Regions from separate parts of the Homo sapiens genome. Here regions 1, 2, 3 and 4 are each linked to region 5. The links are contacts of gene promoters, found by promoter capture Hi-C in blood cells and fetal thymus (Javierre and others, 2016). All regions are on one chromosome and are shown on one strand. Each heading gives the region's core, a stretch centred on a gene start or on the middle of the fragment in contact. The rest is flanking DNA. Distances are from core to core; before and after follow the strand shown.

Region 1 (2,700 bases), core at 78-2,577, 320 kb before region 5:
ATAATAAAAGCATAATATAGTAAATACATAAGCCAGTCACATGGTCGTTTATCATCATTAGCAAGTATTATGTACTGGACATAATTGGGTGCATTAGACTTTCAAATGACCAGCAACACAAGAGGTTTGTTTACACCAGCATCACCGCAAACACGAGTCAGGTGTTGCACAGGCGTCATGAGGGCCACACTGGTACCAGGCAATAGGACTTTTCAGCTCAGCTCCAGTATCATCTTATGGGAGCACGGTGGTGCAAGCATTGGGTTGTTGACTGAAACATTGTCATGCAGCTCATGGCTGCATTGGAAGGCCAGGGTCAGGAGAGGGAGACACATAAGGTCAACGGCTTGTAGAGATCCTGAATGTGACCTGGGGAAATGCCTTTGTTGGGGGTGGGTTGTGGGAAAGGTCCATGAGTGTGGTTGCTCTACAAGAGTCAGGATGAGGCAGTGGGGAGGAAATGGTAGCTGCAAGTGTGGGCTACTCAATACAAAAAGTTTGTGGGGAAAAAAAAATCTAAGCACAAGCAATAGATGTGTCAAACCGACGTTTGTCTCAGGAGGGAGGAGACCAGGCAGTGCCTGCAGGCGTAACCGTGGAAAAGTGGGGTGCAGGGCTCTGAGGTGGGGTTCTGCCACTGCAATCAGTCAAGAGCAGCAGGCCTGACTCTAGGGACACCTCCTCTGGAAAATTAGAAATCCATTTTCCAAGTAATTCTACTTGTGTTCTCTCACTTTTCAGATTTATTTCTGGCAATATCTTCTGTTTCTTTCCTTCCCTTAAAAACATGACTTTTTAAAATAAATCCTCTATTTCTTGGTCAACTGGCCAAATATCACATACTTTGCTTGTCAAAATTCAGTCCTTCTAAGATGTTAAGGACAAAACACCCCCAAACAACTGGTCTGTTCAGAAAGGGAAGCTATTATATAAGAGCAGGTTGTGAATTTTTTTCAGGATGTGAAAATATACACTTTAATTTCACAAGTTACTAATTAGTATAGTAGGACAAAGTCATAATCCAAAACAATAATCTTTATTACCAAAATAGAGATTAAACACAATTAAAATGAACAATATTACCAGCCATAATTGCTAATCAATTAGCCGAGAAGCTATATTACTGTAATCTTCCTAGTCTCCACTTTGCCCTTCCTATATCTTCTCAGTGTTTATAAGATGGAGATGAGTTAAAAGGACCCATCTGCAAAGCCCTTTTTTAATTATAGGCTTGGCATCCAGCCGCCTCATCCTCTGCTGTGAGCATTTCCACCCACCTGGTGCGTGGGAACCCGCCCCCTAATTTTGAAGGTCAAAGCCAGGTCCAGCAGGCATTTTCCAGCTGCATGGGGTCATCACAGCCATCAGCAAGCCCAACAGGCAGCATCTACTTCCCCAACTGTCCTCCCGTCTTCCTACTCCAAACACCCACATTCTGAATGTCCAGCCCACATAGCACACGCACAGCCTCACTTTCATAAAGGCCAGACCACAGGATGTGGTAGAGCATAGGAATGATTAGTCTTTCATCGCTCACGACAAACTACAGGGAAGGTTGACCCCCATGCCCAATGAACTAAGAATCCAAAATGACATGTTGAATTTGTGAACATAATCTTTCTCTGAATGTTAAAACGACATCAGCCACCCCCAGCAAGAAGGTTGTGAACATCAAATTTCATGGCTCACCTTATTTTTTTTAAGTGTGGCCGAAGCTAACTTCTGCAGTCTGAGCCCTGTCCCCGCGCACGGGTTGGATGGAGCTCTGAGGAGTCAGATGCAGACTCGGTGTCACTCACCTACGGCAGGCCTGATTGGCCATGGAGTCTGGGCGGGACAAAGGCCTCCTTGGGAAGGAAAAGCCCCCGCTGCAGAAAGAGTCACTGTAGAGGGCAGGGGCATGGGTGCAGATGGCTTCAGACAGCCCCTGCTCATTAAGAACTCTTGTAAATCTCTGAAAATCAGGCTGCATGGTGGGGAAATACCAGGCATGGAAGCACCCTGGTCCCCAGACACCGCATCCACCCCATTCCCTTCCAGCTCCAGTGGAAAACGCACTCACCAAGGGCTCTTTTGCCTCCTCCCTTCTGTCAGCCACTTTGGATACAACAGAGTGGATTCTCTACACCAGGCAGTGGAGAGCGGCCCTTCCCAGCTCCTAATGCCTGCAGACGGGGTCAGGCTTGAGGGCCAGCCCGGAGGAAGATGCCACAGATGCCACTGCCCGTGTCCAGCTGGGAGTCACCTCTCTTCCTGCCTCTGCTGGCTTATGCCACACTGTGCACAGCTGTGGACAAGGTTTGCAGACGAGGGAGCTGCCCCACAGGTTCAGTTGTGTGCTCTGAACCACCCCCCAGCCCCAAAAAGCATCAGGAGGGCAAACCAGTTGCCAAAGAAGGAAGCTCCCAGAAACCTCTAATTGCCCCAGCCAAATTTTAGGGCCAACCAGATGCACTTGCTATGAGAAACCCCAGGAGGTATAAAGGAGAAACTGAGGCTCAGGAAAGCAAAGGGGTTTACAGGAGGCCACACAGTCCATCTGTGGAAAGACAAGGTCCTCACTTCTCCCTTCTGGGCTGGCCACTCTCTGAGTCTCCGAGCCATTCTCTGCATTCGTAGCGGGGCCCTCTGCCCTCTGCCCTCCACCTGCCCTGGCCACCCCCCCCCTCCACTGTGTGTGCCAAGAACCCAGGACCCTGC
Region 2 (2,706 bases), core at 118-2,617, 340 kb before region 5:
TTCCAGAAGCTGGATCTGGGAGTGGAGGGATTTGACTAGGATCAGGGTAAACCAACTGAGCCTGCAATGGGTGACTGGGTAGGGCTGTGGGGAGACAGAGGGCCAAGGTGGAAGTAGATGTCACAAAACTTTTCCCCAGAATTGAAAATCCAGGTGAACCCAAGTCAGCAAAAAGAGGGGCTGAGCAACTTTTCAGAATGGCTGGACGTGACCAGTGGCTGCAATACCAGGGCTCTGAAATCAGTGGTGTTTGTTGTGAAATCAGCTGGAATCCCAAAGCAGAGGTAAATGTGTGTTTAGAGTGTGTGGGAACATTTTTCCTATACTTGATTCCAGCCTGTCCACCCCATCAGCTGATGAGGCTCAAAGCCAATTCCAGCCATCACAGCTCAGCCAGCTGGACTAGGTGTCCAGAGTGGATGCAACTGACCTGAGACAACCTCGCCCTCCTCAGCCCATGGACATACACAATCTTCCAGGGACATCCTATAAGGATGAAAAGAATGCCAGATTCAATGGGAATTGGAGTCCATCCTATGTCTTAGATTGTAAAATATGTCACAGAGAACACAACTTATCCAGCATTTCCCATTTTCAGTGGGTGTTGACTACAAGCATTTACATTAGAAATTGCACCATAGAGTTCAGCTTAAAATTTATAGCAAAAAAAGTGCTTCTCTTGGGGGTAGGGGAAATATGGGCATACTCTGGACTTTGTGCTCAAGCTTGCTATGAACCTAAAACTACTCTAAAAAATAAAGCCTATATATAAAAAGAAAAATGATGCCTCCTACCCAAGCCATTCCCCCCAAAGATCCCAGCTGATCTTGTTGAACCCACCTTCCATGTGGAGCCCTGTGCTCTGCTGGAGTCACCCAGGTGCCTGTTGGTCTGCTGTTCTTCACTCAGTTCCTCCTTCACTCCCCATCTCCCCTTCCTCTGCTGCATGCACAGGCACAGCTGGGTGTGCACATGAGGGTGCCTGCATGTGAGTGCAGGCACATACGTGTGTGCATGTGTGTATGCGCATGTGTTTTCCATTCCTTCGTCCTCTCTGTGTGGCACTCTCCTCCTCCTCCCTCTACTCAACTCCTCTATGACACTGAGCTCTGCTGTCTAACGTAGGCATAGACACCTCCATGCCCCCACTGTTGCCCTTGCAGGTGGTTCCAGGTGGACACATTGTCATTTGCTTTCTTGAAGGACACTACTTTGCCACTTTAATTTCTTATACCAGAATCCAAACCAACCATGATTTTGGCTGAAGGGAGGAAGGGATTGGGAGACACAGACCTCTGAAGATGCCCTGAGCTTTGTATTCAGATTTCCTGGTTCCATGCTAGCACCTTGCCCACTGTGCTACCAGGGCTATTACTCAACCTCTCTGTGTCTCATTTTCCTCATCTGTAAAATGGGGGTAATAACATCAAATACCTGGTGGGGTTGTAGGACAAATCAATGGGCTCATGCACGTAGGTCCTTAGCACAATACCTGACACTTACTGAGTGCTCCATAACTGTTAGCCATTGAAGTCAAAATTATTTAATGTTACCTAAAATTATTCAGGCTTAACAGTAATTTTTAGAATCACCAAAGAAAGTTTTCAAGGCACAGAAAATGTTACCAAAATCATAGCATTTGCAGTAACTTAGTCTTGGAAACTCAAGTGATCAAATGAGAAGTTGGTATTTCTAACAAATCAGTTTGGATTAGGACCGTGCCGAGTCTGCTGTTCACTGGGCAAGAAGGCACCGGGTCATCCCTTGACAGCCCCTACCCAAGTGTGGGATACGCATCATTCCCCATGGCAGCACAGCAGGGAACTTCGCTGCTTCACTGCCCTCCCTCCACGGCTATTCTTTCAACATACATGTTGGTATTATATGCCAGGAACAGTAAAGGGCTCTGTTGGGCCTTTTTCTAGGTCAACCCTCAGATCAATGGAATGGTTGTTGGACATGCCTTCCCATCTCAATGTTCCCTTTCCCAGCCCATAAACCAAGCTTCACTGTGCACAAGAAGACCTGAGTTACTTCACACACCCATGAACTTCTCCAGGACCTTGAGGCTGCTGTTTGAAATAAGCGATAGCTTTGTGAACAATAACACAAACTTATAACGAATGTGTTGATCCCACTTGGCCATCAGGAGTGACAGGCAGGCCTGCCGTCACTTTCCCAAGGCCCTTCCAAGCAACTCAAAGAATGAAAGGAATTAGAACCCCTGACACCTGACCCCTGCAGATCCAGGCAATCCCACTGTCTTCAGGAGGCAGGAAAACAAAGGGTGAAATCAGAGGCTTCCTAGGGCACGGGGTCCGAAATCAGAAACTCCCTCTAGCCTCATCAATAAGCCATAAGGAGCCAAGAGAAAAGCTCTCAATTTCCCTTTAGACCCACACTGGCCCTGTCCTCTCCTGCAGCCCCAGGGAGAGCCCTGCATTCCTGGCTGCCATCTGGCCTCCAGGCCCAGGGACTCTCTCTGGCTGGCCACGTACTTGTATATCTCAAGTATTGTGTTTCTGGTTTCTGTGGCTTCCCTACCAAGGAGACGTAAGAATGAGGCTGGTCTCCATCATTGCAGTGACACCTGATGGTCCCCAGGGACCTAATATTTATTATGCTGGGCATGCTAGGTTGCTACTAAAAATTTAATCCATTTTTTCTCCTCAAACTCCCAGGCAAGTTTTAGAATTCTTATTAAAT
Region 3 (2,725 bases), core at 210-2,709, 270 kb before region 5:
TGCACTGTTGCTAAATCACTGAACTCTCCTTAAACTGTTATGAGTTGCCTTTCTAACTCTTCATTTTATTAGGGCAGCTTCTCGAAATAATCTGGGGTTTAAGTTGACTTTTCAGACTCAAAATTTTTGTACCTATCTTGAAGAATAACTCACTAATTTGCTTATTCCACATCCCAGCTTTTAAATTAATAAAAGCAGTCATTCCTTTTGAGTATAAATGATATTTTCTTACAAACAATGAGAAAATAGTGATCTAAAACTGGCATTTTCTGCTCACATAAAATCCTAACGCTGCCTTAAATGTTGGCAACCAGAGTTTCCTGGCCCCCTGAGCTGTGGATGGTGACGGAGGCCTCTCCCTGAGACTCCCACAGCCCAGGCCACACAGTAAGATGCTCGTTTGCTTTCATTGCTGTTCTTTTCCACTGAACTTTTTTGCACCACCATTTCCCCTGCCTAAGGCTGGCCCTCCACGTCCAGTCTCAGAACCCAGGAATTTGAGGTGTCACAAAGAGTACTACATGGGAAGATTCTGACCAGAGACCCGAGGGAGGGAGCTGTGTTTAAGGAAAGATAGAAAGGGAAAGCCCGTTTGTGGGGTGCCTGTGGTTTGCTTGTGTGTTTTCCATATGCCAGTTCATTTAATTCTCACAGCTTCCCTGAGAAGCAGGCTTTTTACCCTTTCACCGATGAGAAAATCAAGACTCAGAGAGGTTTGGAAACTGGCAAAAAGCCACACATCCTGTTGCAAAGCCAGGACTCCAACCTGCTCTGCCTCATTCCAAAGCGCATTTCCACTGTAGCGTCTAAATTGAGTTGTAAGAAACCTGGATCCTCTGTAATACAAGCTGATGATCTCAAACCAACTGGCCCAAGACCACATCGAGAGGCCCTGATAGATCAGGACCAGTCCAGGAGGTTGAAATGAGGGGGACCCATATGTTGCCCTCTCTTTGGGGGACTTTGTAAATGGCAAATCAAGGGCCGGATTCAGCAAAAGTTAAAAAAACACTAGAGCTCCAAGAATAGCAGTGCAGGACACTTTGCTAAGAAATTATCCAGGCCACTGAGGCTGTAACAACCTACAGAGTCCCTGATATTCCCATTTTAGGGATGGAGAAACTGAGGCCCACACAGGCTAAGCAGCTGCCAATGACAGGGGATCTGGGGTCCAACTCACCCTGAGTGCCCAGCTCCCCACCAGCTGCCCCAACAAAGGGGCTTCCTTTAGAAAAGACCCTCATTCTCAGGTAACCAGCCCCACGGCTGGCTTCTCTGGAAGCCCTCGTGGGTGCCCCTCCCACCCAGCCCACTCTACACGCAAAACCCAGTTCAACAACTCTCCATGATGCCGGCTGGGTTTGTGCTGCCTGTGGAGCTGGGAACCTAAGGGGCGTCACTAATAACCTGGTGCTGAGATATAGGGACAGGGATCGCTCTTGTCCTGTGGTCTCGGCATGGCTCTGTGGGAATAAAAGGCGGACGGTAGTACCCAAAGCAACACCCATTCCCTATGAGATGGGACAGGTCCTGTTAACACTAATAAGGCACCATTCACTTCATGAGTAATATTCCAGCATGCCGGCTGAAGAGGTGCATTTATCCACTTCTACATTAATATTCTATTATATAGTAAAAAGACTTGGCCGGGCATGGTGGCTCATGTCTGTAATCCCAGCACTTTGGGAGGCCAAGGCGAGCAGGTCACCTGAGGTCAGGAATTCGAGACCAGCCTGGCCAACATGGCGAAAGCCTGTCTTTACTAAAAATACAAAAATTAGCCAGACGTGGTGGTGCACGCTTGTGGTCCCAGCTACTCGGGAGGCTGAGGCAGGAGAATCGCTTGAATCTGGGAGGCGGAGATTGCAGTGAGCTGAGATCACGCCACTGCAATCCAGCCTGGGCAACAGAGTGAGATTCTGTCTCAAAAAAGGAAAGAAAAGACCAAAAAATGCTGAGATATATTTTGAGATTGTAATCAGTTATAATTAAATGTCTGTAAACTCATTTAGATACCATCATTCTGCCATTATTCTGAGCTCTTTTTTATTTTTTTTTAATGAAATCTTGAATTCTGGGGCTCTATCATTCATGGAAGGAGTGGGTGGTGGGGTCAGAAGTGTCCATCCTCCAGCAGGGAGAGTGCACCCTGGGAGGGTCCCCAGACACCGGGCAGCCAGCGTGAGGGTGAGGAGCTGCCAGTTCTGTTTCTCTTCTTGCCTGTTCTTCACACTTGTATGTGCCTTCTTCTTCCTTTTTCTGCCCATACTTATACTTTCTGCTCCTAAATGTTTGGGAGGCAACCCAAAAAGCAGCCTGGCCGCAGGTGAGGAAGGACGGTTAACAAGTCCGGAGAGATCGGTGGTAACCAGAGTGTGCTCAGCCCTTAGTGTGGGGCCAAGAACTAAGGACTTTTTCTCATGTTTGTTGAGGAGGTGAGGAGAAAAGCAACACAAAAAACATTCTGTTCTAAAAGCCTTCATGGAAAGAAGACAAGGCCTGTAAGGAGAGAAGAGAGGGGGGCAGGAAGTTGTAAGGAGGCCATAGAATGGTCCAGAGTGGCAACTAGTAGGGGCAAGAGCTGTTAGGGAGACAGTGGGGCTGAGAAGGAATGGCCAGTGCATGGAAGACCAGGAGTGGGGAAAAGGTGAGACGTGGCAGTGAGTCCGGAGGACAGCGGTGAGCCCCTCCCATAGGGACCCTCCTGCGTAAAGGTGGTCTTGTA
Region 4 (2,700 bases), core at 108-2,607, 300 kb before region 5:
AATGTGTCCCTGTTGTTAAGCAACACATGACTATATATATATAATATCAATATAGATATAGATATCACTCTATGTGTGAATACCAAATATTAATAGTAGTTATCAGTGCATAATGGACCTAGACATGTTGTTCTTGTTTTTCTTTCTACATTTTGTATTCTACAATAAAGATGTAGGACTTTTATAATAAGGCATTGTTTTCCTAAGCAGTTGAATTGGATGCAAGAGCAGGTGACAATCCTGTCACTCCCTGTTCCTGGCAGCCACCTCCACCGCACTTCACCAGATTCTTGACAGTGTCTCCTCAACATCTCCTGATCTCATCTCTTTCTCTCCACCCTCGCCTCCCTGCTCCACTCCAAGCCGGCATTGTCTCTTGCCAATACTATTACAACATGACATCGTCCCCTCTTTCCCACCATCTGACACCCACCCTGAAGCTAGAGTGATCCTCTAAGTAAAAACCACATGATGTGCCCCTCTCTTTCTTACCCCACTTGAGATCCTTTCATGGTCTCACTTTGCTAAGAAATAAAGTACAAAGTCTTTAGTGTGAGCTGAGGAGTCCTCCAGGATCTGACCCCAGGGCACCTCTAAGACCTCATCTCATGGGGGTGGTTAAAGGTGCATCCTCCAGAGTCTGAGGGCATAGGTTCAAGTCCTAGTTTTGCTGCTCACTCCACTTCCCCCTGCCCAGGTATTTCCATGTGTCCCCACCTGCCTTCTGCAGAGCTCTGGGGGCGCTGCCTAACACCCAGGAGCACTCAGCAAATGTTCGCTGTCACTGTCAATGTGTGAGCACCTTGCATATTGATTATTGCTGGGAAAGGAAAAGGGACAACTGAAATGATTCTTGGCTTTCTGATTGCATCATTAGCTGGAAAGCAGAGCTGTTACCAACAAAATTCCCCAAAGGAAACAGGTTTGATGAGTTCAGCTTTAGACTTCCTAAAGCACCTGGGGGGACAGAACTGGGGCTCAGGAAGGACATTCAGCTCAGAGATGGTCTCAAGTTGCCAGCTGACCAGTGGTTGTAAAAGCTGTGGTGTGGGCAAGATGATCCAAGGGAAATAGATGGGTGGGGTGAACAGAACCTCGGAGAACCAACATTCAAAGAAACTGGTGAAAAAAAAGAAACCCAAGAAAGAGGCCAGAGAAACTGGCCTGAAAGGGTTAAAAAAAAAAAAAAAGGCAAGGCTAGCACTTCAGAAGCAAGACAAAGAAGGGTGCCAAGGGGAGGGGGTGGCTGAAGAGCCAGGCACTTAGGTCTCACCAGTCCAGGAGCATCCATGTGTTGGGTGTAACAGGCTGGCAGTCACCAGAGCTCTCTCTTCTCAACGTTGGAATCCTCATGAGGTGGAAATGAGCACACACATCTAAGTATTTTTCTTGTCACATAGCTGGGATGCTTTGTTTTTTGGGTTTTTTTGTTGGGGGCAGTGGTTCTTGCTTAAATCTCACCTCTCTTATAAGACTCCTCCCAGCCATCCTTCTAAATAGACTACCTGTGGCCCCTCCATCCCTGGCATCCTTGATCCCTTGCTCAGTTCTGCTGTCCCTTCTTTCTACACCACGTTCACCTTCTAACCTGCTGCATGATTGACTGATTCCAGTCCTCATTTGTCTTCTGAGTCTGAGCTAGCTACAGGAGAGGAGGATGCTTTATTCGTTTGTTCGCTGACATAGTTTAAGCACTTAGAACAAGGTTGGTACCTCGTGGATGTACAATAAATATTTGTGGTCAAAACAGTTTTGATATACTACAGACCCACAACCAGGTCTCTTAGGAGTTGGCTGGGAAGACAGCCTATTACCCAAAACTTTTCCTGTTTGGAAAAACTCTCTGAAAACACCTCCAGGACCAGTCCTCTTCTCTTCTAAGCAATACTGATGAGAACAAATGCCTCTTTCATTTTCATTTGAGGCAGCTGCAGCTGCCTCGCCCCTGCTCCCGGATACACTTGGGCTTGAGGCGTGAATCTCTACAAAGCCCTGGTGGGGAGGAACCCGAGACTGTCCCCAGACAGCGACCTCCTGTGCAGCTGCCGTAATGAAGGAACAGACCTGAAAGGCAGAACCCACTGGGCTCGCTGCCCCCGAAACAGGGCGCAGAGGAGAGGGCTCCTCCCCATCTCCCTCAGCTGCACCTCGTCTTCTCTCAACATCAAAAACAGCTCTCCAACGATTTTTTTTAATGGAACAGAAAAACTGTTCTTTATCAAGATAGAGCAGGGCAGCCATGTGCTTTTCATAAAACTGATTACAGAGACCAGATGAAAGAAGTTGACGGGGTCAAGCTGCATTTTGCCTTCCCCCGTGTTCTAGGATGGGGAAATGTTTTTCATTATATTCGTTAAAAGTTCACCACCATCTGATAAGAATCTTGAGAAAGGGCATGCGTGTTGCTAAATTAGCCCTAAAAGGGGACAACTTAAAGTAAAATAAATCTGACTTAAACATGAGCTCAAGTTACCCACCTCGGACTTCCAGAAGGGATGGTTGCTAGGAAGCATTTGAAAGGGGCTCATCCAGCCAGCCACAGTGGCACCCAAGGACTAGGAAGCATGGCAGTCTCACCATAATTATAATAACTGGAACACATTGGCCGGGCATGGTGGCTCATGCCTGGAATCCCAGCACTTTGGGAGGCCAAAGCTGGAGGATCACTTGAGGCCAGGAGTTTAAAACCAGCTTGGGCAA
Region 5 (2,700 bases), core at 159-2,658:
ATTCACAGACTTTGACTCACTTCTAGAAGTCTAACCAAAGAAATAATCAGAGATATGGACAAAGGTTTATGCATAAGGATGTTCATGCATTGTTCTTCCTTAATCATAATTTTAAGATAGAAACAACATAAGTGTCCACAGTAGTAGAGTATGTGTGTACGTATCTCCAATAATTTATTGAACAAATGTTTGCTGAGTGTCTTCTCTGGGCCAGGCTCTTTGAGAGTTCCCTGGAATCCAGTGGTACACAAAACAAACATGTCCACCTCCCGGAGCATGTCATCTAGTTACAATAACGGAAAAGACAGATGATCAGCTAGTTCCACAAATAAGTTAGGTGTTAATGAAGAAAAGTAGAGGATGAAGTAATTGCGTTTTTTTGCCATTAAAAGTAAATGTAACTTTTAATGGCAAAAACTGCAATTACATTTGCACCAACTTAATATTATATTACTAAATAATCAAAGAATACAGTAAAAAGCGGTATGGAAAACATGCTATGAATGTCTATTTATCATCTCAAGAAATGATCTTTTCGCCAAATGGGAGAGTTTTTCGAAAGTCCAGAAATGACCATTTATAAACTATTTACCATTCAACAGAGTGGATACAGCTATAACGACCAAAAACAAGAATGTTCAGAACCATCTCTATCAGAGTACTAAAAAGTAATAAAGATGAAACTTCTCAAGATATAATTTAAATAATACGCAAATATGATCCAATTTGAAAGAGGAAATTTGAAAGCCAAACCTCTCTGATAAAGTCTAAAAATAGAGAGGTATAAAACATAAGGAGGTGTAAGCTTTTCTCTTTCCACTCCACAGTACATTTGACAAAGGTTTACCCTCCTTAGGATTCCTCTTGGAACAATTATAAGAGTCAAATCACTAATGAGTAAAGAAACTGAGCAATGCATAGCAAAAACTTCAGAAAAATCCACAGACTTCGTCAAACTTCTAGAAGTTTAAGCAAGGAAGCAAGTGGAGATATGAACAAAGGTTTATGCCTAAAGATATTTGGGTGTTGTTCTTTCTCAATCATAATTGTGAAATTGAAGCAACATAAATATCCACAATAGTGAAGTATATGTTTACATATTTCCAATAATTCTTGGAGGAGTTGGGGTTTCATGTTGTTGTCTGCTAGACTCAGCAACGCTTTGGGAATACAGATCCTCCACGCCCTATTATTTAGGAATTCTACTCCTGTCATGATATGGTAGGCTAAACTTGCTTCCATGACACTTGGCCAAGGATTATAAATTAATTGCATGATTGAGGAAGTCCCTGGGAAGACCATGCCCACCCCTTGTTCATGCTGGTTGGCTGTAACCATAGCAGCCTCTTACTCCAGACCAAAGTTCAGCTACTGTTAATTTTATGGCCATGTTCAGAGTTCAATGTCCATTAGCATAACCCTTCCTCAGGAAGAGTGAGATTTTATATTTGACAATAAAGTGTTAGACTCCATTTCTAAATACCAGACTTCAAAAGATAAGGTTCAAAAGTGTTATAAGAAGATATTCCTTTTTTTGTCCTAGAGAACTTATTTTCCTGTGAAAATGCCTACCACAAAGAAGACATTGATGTTCTTATCAAGCTTTTTCACCAGCCTTGGGTCCTTCATTGTAATTTGCTCTATTCTTGGGACACAAGCATGGATCACCAGTACAATTGCTGTTAGAGACTCTGCTTCAAATGGGAGCATTTTCATCACTTACGGACTTTTTCGTGGGGAGAGTAGTGAAGAATTGAGTCACGGACTTGCAGAACCAAAGAAAAAGTTTGCAGGTAAATGATAAACTAATTTGAATGAATATAGTGAGATTGAATTAAGGTTTATGTCATTCTATATTTGGGCCAAATAACCATTCAAAAATAATTTCTTTGTAAGTTTTGGGTTAGGCTGAAGGTACAAGCTTAACTCATAATTTTGGAAATTTGCCATGTCATTATTTGAGCTTCCTCGGTTCTCCTTGTGTCTATTAATACAATAGTCTATATCATTCTAGCAGTGGCTGTATTTAAATAATACCTACCAAGTTGACTGACAAGTAAATAAGTAAAAATATGTGGCAGCAATACGGCATTGAATAGCCAGTAGGAACACATGTTTTAACTGTATTGACTGGGTTTTTAGCTGGAGCCACAACCTCTGTCTAGAACTTCACAAGTGGCATCTATGCAGGAAAGAGTAAAATGGAAAATTTATTATCTCTATTTCTCAAGTTCATTTCTTTAACTGATTTTAATTTACCTCCAAAAAATCTAATCGTTGGAAATTATATTAAATTTCCATTAATTTATTAATTGTATATTTGATAGGAATTCCTAAACATTTTTTTTTCTGATTTCTTATATAATAATGCCCTCCTCTCCATGGAAGTAAAATTAAAAGTTCATTGAGAATAATAAGTTGATTTAGCTACTTATTTGACTTTTGAGGTTTGATAACCTACCTTCATGTTTTCTAAATTTAAAAACATTTGTAAATTATGTAACACATTAAGTGGACTTTGTTTTGAACAATGTTGTATGCAAGTATTATACAGGCATTATTGGGTATCATACAGTCATTACCTTTTGACTTATAAATATGCATCATTTTCTACCTTATACACATGTAATGTTTAGTCCTTGTGTAATGCATGAAGAAGTTTGAGTCCTAGACACTAGCTCTAAGTTCTAGCTCTAGTGT

Evidence for each region. The method cuts DNA at HindIII sites, captures the fragments that hold promoters and counts their contacts. A CHiCAGO score of 5 or more calls a contact.
Region 1: a fragment that was not itself captured here is called in contact with the fragment with the promoter of CLRN3 in region 5 in 4 of 17 cell types (monocytes, M0 macrophages, M2 macrophages and 1 more); the score reaches 9.5 in monocytes.
Region 2: a contact is called between a fragment that was not itself captured here and the fragment with the promoter of CLRN3 in region 5, in 2 of 17 cell types (monocytes and neutrophils). The highest score is 6.0, in monocytes.
Region 3: a contact is called between a fragment that was not itself captured here and the fragment with the promoter of CLRN3 in region 5, in 7 of 17 cell types (monocytes, M2 macrophages, M0 macrophages and 4 more). The highest score is 14.1, in monocytes.
Region 4: a contact is called between a fragment that was not itself captured here and the fragment with the promoter of CLRN3 in region 5, in 4 of 17 cell types (monocytes, M0 macrophages, M2 macrophages and 1 more). The highest score is 7.4, in monocytes.

Annotation. Positions count from the first base shown.
Region 1 is chr10:128,216,041-128,218,740 of GRCh38, reverse strand. No RefSeq gene overlaps it. Among named protein-coding and RNA genes, the nearest start is that of LINC01163, 69 kb to the left of the region's middle. The HindIII fragment of the contact is 7,504 bases long and covers 1-2,700 here.
Region 2 is chr10:128,234,666-128,237,371 of GRCh38, reverse strand. No RefSeq gene overlaps it. Among named protein-coding and RNA genes, the nearest start is that of LINC01163, 50 kb to the left of the region's middle. The HindIII fragment of the contact is 1,279 bases long and covers 728-2,006 here.
Region 3 is chr10:128,161,930-128,164,654 of GRCh38, reverse strand. No RefSeq gene overlaps it. Among named protein-coding and RNA genes, the nearest start is that of MKI67, 37 kb to the right of the region's middle. The HindIII fragment of the contact is 6,337 bases long and covers 1-2,725 here.
Region 4 is chr10:128,186,981-128,189,680 of GRCh38, reverse strand. No RefSeq gene overlaps it. Among named protein-coding and RNA genes, the nearest start is that of MKI67, 62 kb to the right of the region's middle. The HindIII fragment of the contact is 5,504 bases long and covers 1-2,700 here.
Region 5 is chr10:127,891,649-127,894,348 of GRCh38, reverse strand. CLRN3 (clarin 3) reads left to right here and starts at 1,408. Exons shown (of 3, transcript NM_152311.5): 1 at 1,408-1,793. The coding sequence starts at 1,565. The HindIII fragment of the contact is 797 bases long and covers 808-1,604 here.